Linked DNA regions of Homo sapiens: all the other regions are linked to region 2. The links are contacts of gene promoters, found by promoter capture Hi-C in human tissues and cell types (Jung and others, 2019). All regions are on one chromosome and are shown on one strand. Each heading gives the region's core, a stretch centred on a gene start or on the middle of the fragment in contact. The rest is flanking DNA. Distances are from core to core; before and after follow the strand shown.

The links. The method cuts DNA at HindIII sites, captures the fragments that hold promoters and counts their contacts. A contact is called where the count stands out against the background at its distance.
Region 1: a fragment that was not itself captured here is called in contact with the fragment with the promoter of ZNF791 in region 2 in 1 of the 25 tissues and cell types used here (dorsolateral prefrontal cortex).
Region 3: a contact is called between a fragment that was not itself captured here and the fragment with the promoter of ZNF791 in region 2, in 1 of the 25 tissues and cell types used here (hippocampus).

The regions. Positions count from the first base shown.
Region 1 is chr19:11,954,948-11,958,270 of GRCh38, forward strand. It overlaps a transcript of ZNF69 not described here. Among named protein-coding and RNA genes, the nearest start is that of ZNF763, 8.4 kb to the right of the region's middle. The HindIII fragment of the contact is 4,304 bases long and covers 1-3,323 here.
Region 2 is chr19:12,609,521-12,613,050 of GRCh38, forward strand. ZNF791 (zinc finger protein 791) reads left to right here and starts at 1,400. Exons shown (of 4, transcript NM_153358.3): 1 at 1,400-1,562. The coding sequence starts at 1,560. ZNF490 (zinc finger protein 490) reads right to left here and starts at 1,293. Exons shown (of 5, transcript NM_020714.3): 1 at 1,044-1,293. The coding sequence starts at 1,160. RefSeq lists enhancers at 962-1,181, 1,512-1,571, 3,297-3,366 and a silencer at 1,312-1,371. The HindIII fragment of the contact is 50,335 bases long and covers 1-3,530 here.
Region 3 is chr19:11,699,701-11,703,321 of GRCh38, forward strand. No RefSeq gene overlaps it. Among named protein-coding and RNA genes, the nearest start is that of ZNF823, 37 kb to the right of the region's middle. The HindIII fragment of the contact is 5,071 bases long and covers 1-3,621 here.

The DNA of each region.
Region 1 (3,323 bases), core at 33-2,532, 650 kb before region 2:
GATTTCAGAAAAATATCATTTGTCTTATATAGAGTTTGTTTCAAAAAAATTTTTTTTTTTTTTTTTTTTTTTTTGAGACAAAGCTTTACTCTTGTTGCCCAGGCTGGAATGCAATGGCTCAATCTTGGCTCACTGCAACTTCTGCCTCCCAGGTTCAAGTGATTCTCCTGCCTCAGCCTCCTGAGTAGCTGGGACTACAGGCGCATACCACCATGCCTGGCTAATTTTTGTATTTTTAGTAGAGACTGGATTTCACCATATTGGGTAAGCTGGTCTCAAATTCCTGACCTTGTGATCCGCCCACCTCGGCATCCGAAAATGCTGGGATACAGGCGTGAGATACCGTGCCCAGCCTGAAAATTCTTGTTTAATTTTTTTCTTCCTTAGAGGCCGTGTAGTACATTTCTTGGTCTATCCTTTTTCGTGGATGATTTCTTTTTCTTTCTTTCTTTTTTTTTTTTTTTGAGACAAGGTCTGGCTCTGGTGCCCAGGCTGGAATGCAGTGGCACAATCTCAGCTCACTGCAGCCTTCATCTTCCAGGCTTAAGCTATCCTTCCACCTCAGCCTCCCTAATAGCTGAGACCACAGGTGCACGCCACCATGCCCAAAGTGCTGGGATTACAGGTGTGAGCCACCGTGCCTGGCCATTTATGCATCATTTCTAACAGTTTCAGGGCTTAGCTTTGGGAATGCTGCTTGGGAAAAGAAATAGGGAAAATCTTTTATTACAGCTGGAGAAAAGGAATAAACTTCTACAACAAAGTATAGTAGATAATCAGTGAATTACAAAGATTCGGAAAAATATCAGTCCTCCTTTGCAGGTTGGAGAACTTGTAACGGTGGATAACTCTTCTCTTCCTGTTATCTGTGGGGTAAGACCTGGCTGGCAACTGTTGTGATATGTTTATATTCACATATGGTTAATGTGTAGTATGTGCTTTGTTATGGAAATCATAATGAAGTAATAATGTCCACCTTAATAAGATAATAAAATTCAGATAATATGATTAAATATTGAGTTTATGTGAACACAAAGTTTGAGGGTAGCCACTGGGGAAACACATCCTGAAGAGTGGGGTCACTGCTCCCACTCTTAACTGGAGAAGTTAAGTCTTCACTTCTGTAGGGCAAAATGAAGATGCTTAATAGGGTTACATTTTCCATACAAAGCCAATGCATATATTTCAATGATTTCATTGGTTGCCGCTTGCCAAATTGCAGCTTACCAAATTTCAAGGATGATTGCTTTAACTTTTTGTAAGGAGGGGTAGTGGTATCAAAAGGATCCTACCTCTGGCACTTCTCAGTGTTTTCTAATGACTTATAGCCCAAGAACAAGGAAGAGAGTTAATCTTTTTGACATGCACACGGAAGGAGCAATTACATGGTAGCGTAAACACATTTCTCAATATGTTTATTGAGTGAAAGGGTTAGATACTTTCCCTGATGAGGGGTGATAGGTAAGTGCCTTATAATTTCCTTCCAGCCTATAATAAACCGAGTTTGAGAGATTTTGCCGGATTCTTCAAACACTGGGTATTTTCTCATTGAAACAGAGGCCTGAGTCCAGTGACTGCAAACTAAAGCCAGTGAGAAACCTACAAAGAGAGGTCATTGAAAGCTCACACCAGGCGCAGTGGCTCACACCTGTAATCCCAGCACTTTGGGAGGCCAAGGCAGATGGAGCATCTCAGGTAAGGAGTTTGATACCAACCTGGCCAAAATGGCGAAACCCCATCTCTACTAAAAATACAAAAATTAGCCAGGTGTAGGGGCTCAAGCCTGTAATCTCAGCCATTCGGGAGGCTGAGGCATGAGAACTGCTTGAACTCGGGGCGGAGGCTGCAGTGAGCCAAGATCACACCATTGCACTTCAGATTGGATGACTGAGCAAGACTCTCCAAAAAAATAAATAAAGCTCACCTGGTTCTTCCCATGGTGCTCCCACTGCAGGTGTTTTCAGCTGCTCAAATTGACCATGGGAGGAGCGCTTTATACTGACAGAACCTCAGATCCCTGGAAAGCTAGGGATCCACAGGCAGATACAGTACTCAGTGATGCCCTCCGCAAGTGACAGTTTTTGTCATGGAGCTTTTCCTAGACGTTTCTAGTGAAACAAATGTAGGTTTCAGTAAGAAATAAGTTTTTTTTTTTTTTTTTTGAGATGGGGTCTCGCTCTGTCGCCCAGGCTGGAGTGCAGTGGCACGATCTCAGCTCACTGCAACCTCCACCTCCCGGTTTCATGCCATTCTCCTACCTCAGCCTCCCGAGTAGCTGGGACTACAGGCGCCCGCCACCATGCCCAGTTAATTTTTTCTATTTTTTTTAGTAGAGATGGGGTTTCACCATGTTAGCCAGGATGATCTCAATCTCCTGACCTCGTGATCTGCCTGCTTCGGCCTCCCAAAGTGCTGGGATTACAGGCGTGAGCCACCGTGCTCAGCCAAGAAGTAACTTTTAATTACCTTAATGACCCTGAAATCAGCTTGTCATTAGGAGAGGTCATAAAAAGAGTCTAGGTACTGAACTTGCAAGTAAAAATAAAAATATTAAATAAATACATAAAGTGGGGTTGCATATAAGCCTAGAAGGGATCAGTCAAAAATTCAGGGGTGGCTGGGTGTGGTGGCTCATGCCTGTAATCCCAGCACTTTGGGAGGCTGAGATGGGCAGATCACTTGAGATCAGGAGTTCAAGACCACCCTGGCCAGCATGGTGAAACACCATCTCTATGAAAAATATAAAAATTAGCTGGGTGTGGTGGCACACACCTGTAACACCAGCTAGTCTGGTGACTGAGGCATGAGAATCACTTGAACCAGGGAGGCGGAGGTTGCAGTGAGCCAAGATCATGCTACTGCACTCCAGCCTGGGCTACAGAACAAGACTGTCTCAAAAAAAGAAAAAAGTTCAGGGACCTGGAGGAAGGAGAGAAACTGAAGCATGCTTTGGTAGATAGATATTTCATTTTGACTAAAGATCACTAAAGAGAAAACTGTTCACCTAATGGTTTGTGAGGTAAATACTGGAATATCTAGTGGGTGTCTGGTTTGTCATAGGTAACAAACGTGGCACCATCTAATTCACCATGGGAAGCTTGTTTCATTGTAGTAAGGTGCTCTTGCACAACACAAAGGATGGGGGATTTCATGAATCACAGCCATTTTCAGGATTGCCCACCCACCCCCATCTCCTTTCCACACCCCTTACTCTTTTTCTATCCATGTCTCTGATTTGACTCGTCCTGAGTTGTATCCTTCATAGTAAGTGGGTAAATATAAGTGAACTGTGGGTAGTTCTATCAAATTATGGAACTTGAGTA
Region 2 (3,530 bases), core at 150-2,649:
GGACTACAGGTGAACACCATACCCAGCTAATTTTTAAAAATTTTTTGAGAAATGGGGTCTCGCTATGTTGCCCAGGCTGGTTTTGGGCTCTTGGTCTTTCCAAGTTCTGTAGGGACACTTTAGAAAACTTATTTGAGATAAATTTCCTTCCACTTTACAGCAACACGGATGGAACTGGAGGCCATTATCCTAAGTGCGATGATGCAAAAACAGAAAGTCAAAAACTGCATCTTCTTACATATAAGTGGGAGCTAAACAATGGGTAAACATGGACATACAGAATGGAATAATAGACACTGGAGATGCCAATAGGTTGGACAGAGAGGGGGGATGAGGGATGAAATATTACCTATTGGGTACAATATACACTCTTTGGGTGATGGGTGCACTAAAAGCCAGACTTCGCCACTATGAAATATATCCACGTAACACAAGTGCATTTGTAACCATAAATCTACAAAAATAAAAATAAAAATGAAAAGCAATAAAAACATGCTTAAACTAAAAACAAACAAACAAAAAAACAACGAAAACAAACCATTTCCTTCCAGAGTAAAACGCAGTTTACTGAGCACGTCTCATAGATCGTGATTGGTCTGAAGAGTCCCTGTGCCCAGGTTAGGGTTGCAATTTACCACCCGAGCCAAGTGCTCGGGTGTCCTACGGATTGTTTTTTCTTTCTTTCCTTTTTTTTTTTTTCTTGGGATGGGTTCTGGCCATGTTGCCCAGACTGAACTCAAACTCCTGGAGTCAAGCGATCCACCCGCCTCAGCCCACCCACCCCCCGACCTCCCCCACCGCCCCCACCACGCAGTAGCTGGGACTACGGGTGTGCGCCACCAAGCCCTGCCTTGGGGTTCCTTTTCTAAAGTGCCAAATGTGTGGAGGTGGGGAAAAGAAAGGTGGACGCCTCAACGCTGTTATGGTCAAAGATTAAAATGCAACCACACTTTTTATTACACATGATGGGGTAACCGTCTGTTTATAAACAAGGGTCACTATTCCACGAGAGGCCTTACAACATTATGCCAAGCCCCTGGTACCTGGAGGACATCAGACCCTCCTGTTCCTGTGCGGCCTTGACTAGACGACCACTTGCTCTGGACTTGCTCCTCGAGGGGTCGCTCCATCTGGAAACTGAGACTGGAATTCCTGCGCATCCCTGTCCCCGCATCCAGAAACACTGCAGGAAGACTTCCGTGTCCGACCCGAGATCCGGAACAATTTCTGCTTCAACACAATTGTCCACGGAGGGCACCAGTTCCGTCCCACCGGCGGAAGCGAGATCTGCCTAGCTACTAGACCTGCTGCCTAGCTGTCATTCGGACAAAAAGGGGCGGGGCTGTATAATTGTCCAATCAGGGGCGGCGCCGGAAAGGAGGGTACGGCTACGCTGCGCAAATGCGTGCTACGTCACTGTGCGATCGGGTTGTGCTTAGCTTGGGGTCTCCTGGCCCCTTGACGCGTCAGGTTGCTGTACCCCTGCATCGGATGCGCTGTACCCTGCGCTGGCTCCGTGAACCTTAGGGACAACACCGGGACACCCGCGAGGCCGGAAAATGGTGAGTGTGCAGGGCCGGACTAGTTGGAACCGGCCGTGATCGCGGGACCCGGGCCTCCCCACGGTCACCTCCGGCCGCAGTGTGGGGCTGGGCTGGCAGCTGGAACTCCAAGCGTCCTGTCCCGTCCCTGCGCGGCGACTGCGGTCCCAGCCCCGGAGCCCTCTCTGGACAACTCCGCGCCCGCAGCCCCGCGTCTTTCCCAGATCGTGCAGGGACCACGGGAGGGTCCTGGGGAGAATCCCGCCTTGTGTGTTTGGTTTGTGTGGGAGGAGCTACAGTCTGGGGTTCCCAGTCCCTTCTTTCTTCCCAAAGGCTGTTTCCCCCTGAGTCTTCCAAAGATGTTGGAAGCAGAGTCTCAAATCCACTACCCTGTCCCCCCAGCCTAGCTCCTCCCACGGCGGGCCATTAATCCCTAGATTTCCGGATCCCTCCCCGAATTCCCAAACGCCTACTTCCGCTCGCCAGTGGAAAACATCGTCACCAACTCTTTGTCCTGTGTGGTGCATTTCAAACACACGCAGTATTTTAATAATCTTTTTTCCAATAGATGCCTCTTTTAAACGATTTATTTCTTGTTTGTGGATATTTTACATCAGAGAAAAATCAGAAAAATTATTCACTTGGAACTAATCTGCATAAAATGCTGTGGCCCTCATCCTGGTACCTTTCCAGGGCACAGACATCCTATGGGAACTCCTTTGCGTTGAGGTTCCTTTTTGTAAACTTTCCTGGGTAATCTATCTTTTCAGCACAGTTTCAGATTGGCACTGTCCCGCCTTGGGTTTATGACCTTGAAAAGATTTATTCACTCGAATGTCATTTTTCCAATAAATATAAAATATATGTTATCAGAAGAACTTGAGAGACAGTACAAAATATTTCCAAAGGGCAAAAAAGAAATGAATCTCAGAAAACAAAAAACATCCCAATATTACATTTGTTAAAAATTCTTTGTTCTTTCCCTGAGCACATGGAATATGTTTCTCAGGTCTGTTCTTTTAGTTTGATGTTTCAGATGGTATTCCAGGACTTAAACTTGCAACATCTAGAAGCATTCAGATAGAAGTAATACTTTTGTAAACTATTTATTGCCATGGAAATAATTAACTGACATTATTATTTTCTTTTTTTTTTTTTTAACAGATGGGGTCTGGCTGTGTTGCTCAGGCTGATCTTGAACTCCTGGGCTCAAGCGATCCTCCACCCTCAGCATCCCAAAGTGCTAGGATTCCAGGCATGAGCTACTATTACCGGCCCAACATTCTCATTTTCTGAAAGCAATAGTGGGTTTTCTTGTTAAATGGCTTAAAATTTTCTTGCTTCCTTCCTTTATTTATTTATTTATTTATTTATTTATTATTTATTTACTTTTTTTTTTGAGACGGAGTCTAGCTTTCTCGCCAGGCTGGAGTGCAGTGACACGATCTCAGCTCACTGCAACCTCTGCCTCTCGGGTTCAAGCGATTCTCCTGCCTCAACCTCCCAAGTAGCTGGGATTACAGGCACAAGCTACCACGCCCAGCTAATTTTTGTATTTTTTTTTTTTTTTTTTAGTAGAGAGTGTTTCACTATGTTTCCCAGGATGGTCTCAATCTCCTGATCTCCTGACCTCATGATCCTCCCGCCTTGGCCTCCCAAAATGCTGGGATTACAGGCATGAGCCACCACGCCAGGCCTTTTGCTTCCTTTATACGTAAACACTGTGTTTAAGTAATTCTGCTGGATTTTTTTTTTTTTTTTTTTTTTTAAAGACCAAGTCTTGCTCTTTTGCCCAGGCTGGAGTGCAGTGGCACAATTTTGGCTTACTGCAACCTCCGCACTTGGAAGCTGAGGAGCCACAGGCAGATGCTGTTAGGGGAAGAGGGGAGGATGTCTGAGGTTTTAATTGTGGTTTCCTTGGGTGTGTTTTTAGACATTACATTTGAGTTTCACATCTGTAAGGTAGGTACACTGAGTGTAATTGGTGCA
Region 3 (3,621 bases), core at 174-2,673, 910 kb before region 2:
AATCCCAGCTGCTTGGGAGGCTAAGGCACGAGAATCACTTGAACCTGGGGAGGTGGAGGTTGTAGTGAGCCGAGATTGAGCCACTGCACCCCAGCCTGGGTGAAAGAGCGAGGCTCTGTCACAAAACAAAAAAAACAAAAACACACACACGCACACGCACACACTAATCAAAAGTGAACTCTCCCCTTTTTCCTCTGTTTCAGCAGCTCCCCAACCTTCACAGTTCATGGTTGTCATCACGTGCTCTGTACCTGGTAATGGACATGTTCAGTTTACCCATCTGAAACTCTCAACCCCACTCCATCACCACTGACCCATCCAATCATTTCTGCAGCTAAATTCTAAGCATTGTATAAATACCTCTTCCCTTTCAGCAGTCCAGCTGGCCCAGGTTGAATCCACCTGTGGCTCTCTCATTTCCCTCAATTTCAATTATTCATTTGAAACTATCTTCCAGGATCGACTGTGATATCTTGTATGATGACCACATTCCCTTTATTTGCTTCTGTTCTTCCTAACCCATGTCGCCACCTGTTCATTGAGGGCACAGACAGAATATTCTAAGCTGACTATCACCTGCTGTAAATTCTGGAGTCTCAGCACAACCTGGAGAAATCCACAGCCCAGAGAGGATGTTAATGCCATCCTTACCACAAGAGGGAGCTTCTTATTTTCACTTCTGGAAAATGGCTAAAAACAGAATTTTGGAGTTTTACATAGCACAATATAGATGATAGAAGTAAAGGTAACACCATTCAATTTTGTTTCATTTTCTTTCTTTTTTTTTTTCTTTGAGACAGGGTCTCACTCTATTGCCCAGGCAGGAGTGCATTGTCACGATCACAGCTCACTGCAGCCTCAACCTCCTGGGCTCCAGTGATGCTCCTGCCTCAACCTCCAGTTAGCTGGGACCACGGGTGTGTACCACCATGCCTGGCTTATTTTTTAAAAAGTTATTTGTAGAGGTAGGGGTCTCACTATGTTGCCCAGGTGGTCTTGAACTCTGGGCTCAAGTGGTCCTCTTGCCTCGGCCTCCCAAAGTGTTAGGATTACAGGTGTGAGCCACTGTGGCCAACCTGGTTTCATTTTTATGATTTAACTTTTCCTAGGTTAAAAAAGCAAATAAGTCCATGCACAGTGGCTCACCTCTGTAATCCTAGCACTTCGGGAGGTCGAGGCTGGAGGATCACTTGAGCCAAGGAGTTTGAGACCAGCCTGGAGCCTGGGCAACCTAGTGACACCCTGTCTCCACCAAAGAAAGAAAGAAAGAGAAAGAGAGAGAGGGAGAGCAAAAAAGTCTGTGAATCTTAACTGAATTTCTCTGAATATGAGAAGTGCAAGGAAATATCTCTACAAACGGAAAGATGTAGGAGTAACTGAGGTGGTACAAAGGATTCTCTCTGAGATGGTGACATTTACTGTGAGACCTGAAATAATATATTAGGGCAGTAAAACGTTAGGGCAGAGGATTCAGGGAAGATGGCAGAGTAGCAAGCATAAAAAAGCTTTCTCAGGCCGGGCGCAGTGGCTCACGCTTGTAATCCCAGCACTTTGGGAGACTGAGGCGGGCAGATCATGAGGTCAGGAGTTTGAGACCAGCCTGACCAGCATGGTGAAACTCCGTCTCTACTAAAAATACAAAATTTAGCTGGGCATGGTGGCCTGCACCTGTAATCCCAGCTACTTGGGAGGCTGAGGCAGGAGAATCGCTTGAACCCGGGTGTCAGAGGTTGCAGTGAGCAGAGATTGCACCACTGCACTCCAGCCGACAGAGCGAGACTCCATCTAAAAACAAAAGCAAAAACAAAAACAAAAACAAAACCAAGCTGTCTCAGCCGGGTGTGGTGGCTCACAGCTATAATCCCAGCACTTTGGGAGGCTGAGGTGGGCAGATCACCCGGGGTCGGGAATTCGAGACCAGCCTGACCAATGTGGAGAAACCTCATCTCTACTAAAAATACAAAATTAGCCGGGTGCGGTGGTGCATGCCTGTAATCCCAGCTACTTGGGAGGCTGAGGCAGGAGAATCGCTTGAACCCGGGAGGCAGAGGTTGCGGTGAGCCGAGATCGCACCATTGCACTCCAGCCTGGGCAACAAGAGCGAAACTCTGTCTTAAAAAAAAAAAAAAAGCTGTCTCCCCACCTAGACAACCACTGGACTGACAGAATCATCTGATGTAGCAATGTTATAACTGTGGAGGCTATTGAAGCTTTGCAACTTCCATAAAAAGGATTAGACAGTAAACTATGGCTAATTGTGGTCATTTTATCACTTAGCACAATACAAGCTATCATCCCCACCCTTACCCCTGTTGCAGGCAGCTGCACATGGAGTGTTTTCCTCTAATTTGGCCTCGGGATCTCTCTCAGAAGCGTGGCTATAAACTTTAGTGCTGGCCAGGCGGGGTAGCTCATGCCTGTAATCCCAGCACTTTGGGAGGCCGAGGCGGGCGGATCACAAGGTCAGGAGATCAAGACCATCCTGGCTAACCTGGTGAAACCCAGTCTCTACTAAAAAAAATACAAAAAATTAGCCAGGCATGGTGGCGGGCGCCTGTAGTCCCAGCTACTCAGGAAGCTGAGGCAGGAGAATGGCGTGAACCCGGGAGGCAGAGCTTGCAGTGAGCCGAGATTGCACCACTGCACACCAGCCTGGGCCACTGAGTGAGACTCTGTCTCAAAAAAAGCAAAAACAAAAACAAACAAAAAGAACTTTAGTGCTGCATTGACGGGGCTCCAGGACACTTGGTTGTGGATATTTACAGTGTGACTTTCATGGGGTCTAATATTTAAGTGTTAACCCATAACCAAATGTCCTTCACAGGAAACTTGATTATACTGGCAGATGCCCTTATGGTTCTACCTCTGCCAAGTTAATCTCTACCAAGATAGCCAGATACCCACTCTCTACAGAGCCCTGACCTGGTAATAAGCTAGACATAGGTGTGGCAGTCAGGTGAGACGTGTGAGACAGCATCAGGCAGGCCAATATATGCACTGTGGGAGTTTCAGAAGGAGAAGAGACAGAGAAAGGTCAGGGGAGACTATTTGGAGAAATAATAGCTGCAAATATTCCAAATTAGATAAAAGCCATGAATGAATGCTGTCATCCAAGAAGCTCAATGAACTCCAGGTAGGATGAATGCAAAGAGAAGGACATGAAGACATATTATACTCAAATTGTCAAAGCCAAACATAAAGGGAGAACCTTGAAGGCAGCAAGAAAGAAGTGAATCATCACATATAAATGATCTTTCATAAGATCATCAGCAGATTTCTCATCAGAAGCGCTGAAGGCCAGAGGTAGTGGGCTGATGTATTCAAGGTACTTAAAAAAAAATGGCCACGGTGGCACATCCCTGCAGTCCCAGCTATTCCGGAGTCTGAAGTGGGAGGATCAGTTAAGGCCCAAGAGTTCAAGGCCAGCCTAGGTAACATGGCAAGACTCCATCTCAGAAACAAAGACAGCCAAGAATCCAATATCTGGCAACATTGTCTTTCAAAAGTGAGGAGGAAATTAAGGCATGCTCACATGAACAAAAACTGAGGTAGTTTTGTTCTTTTTGTTTTTGCCATTAGATGTACCCTGTGAGAAACGCAAAAGCCTTCTACAGGTTGAAA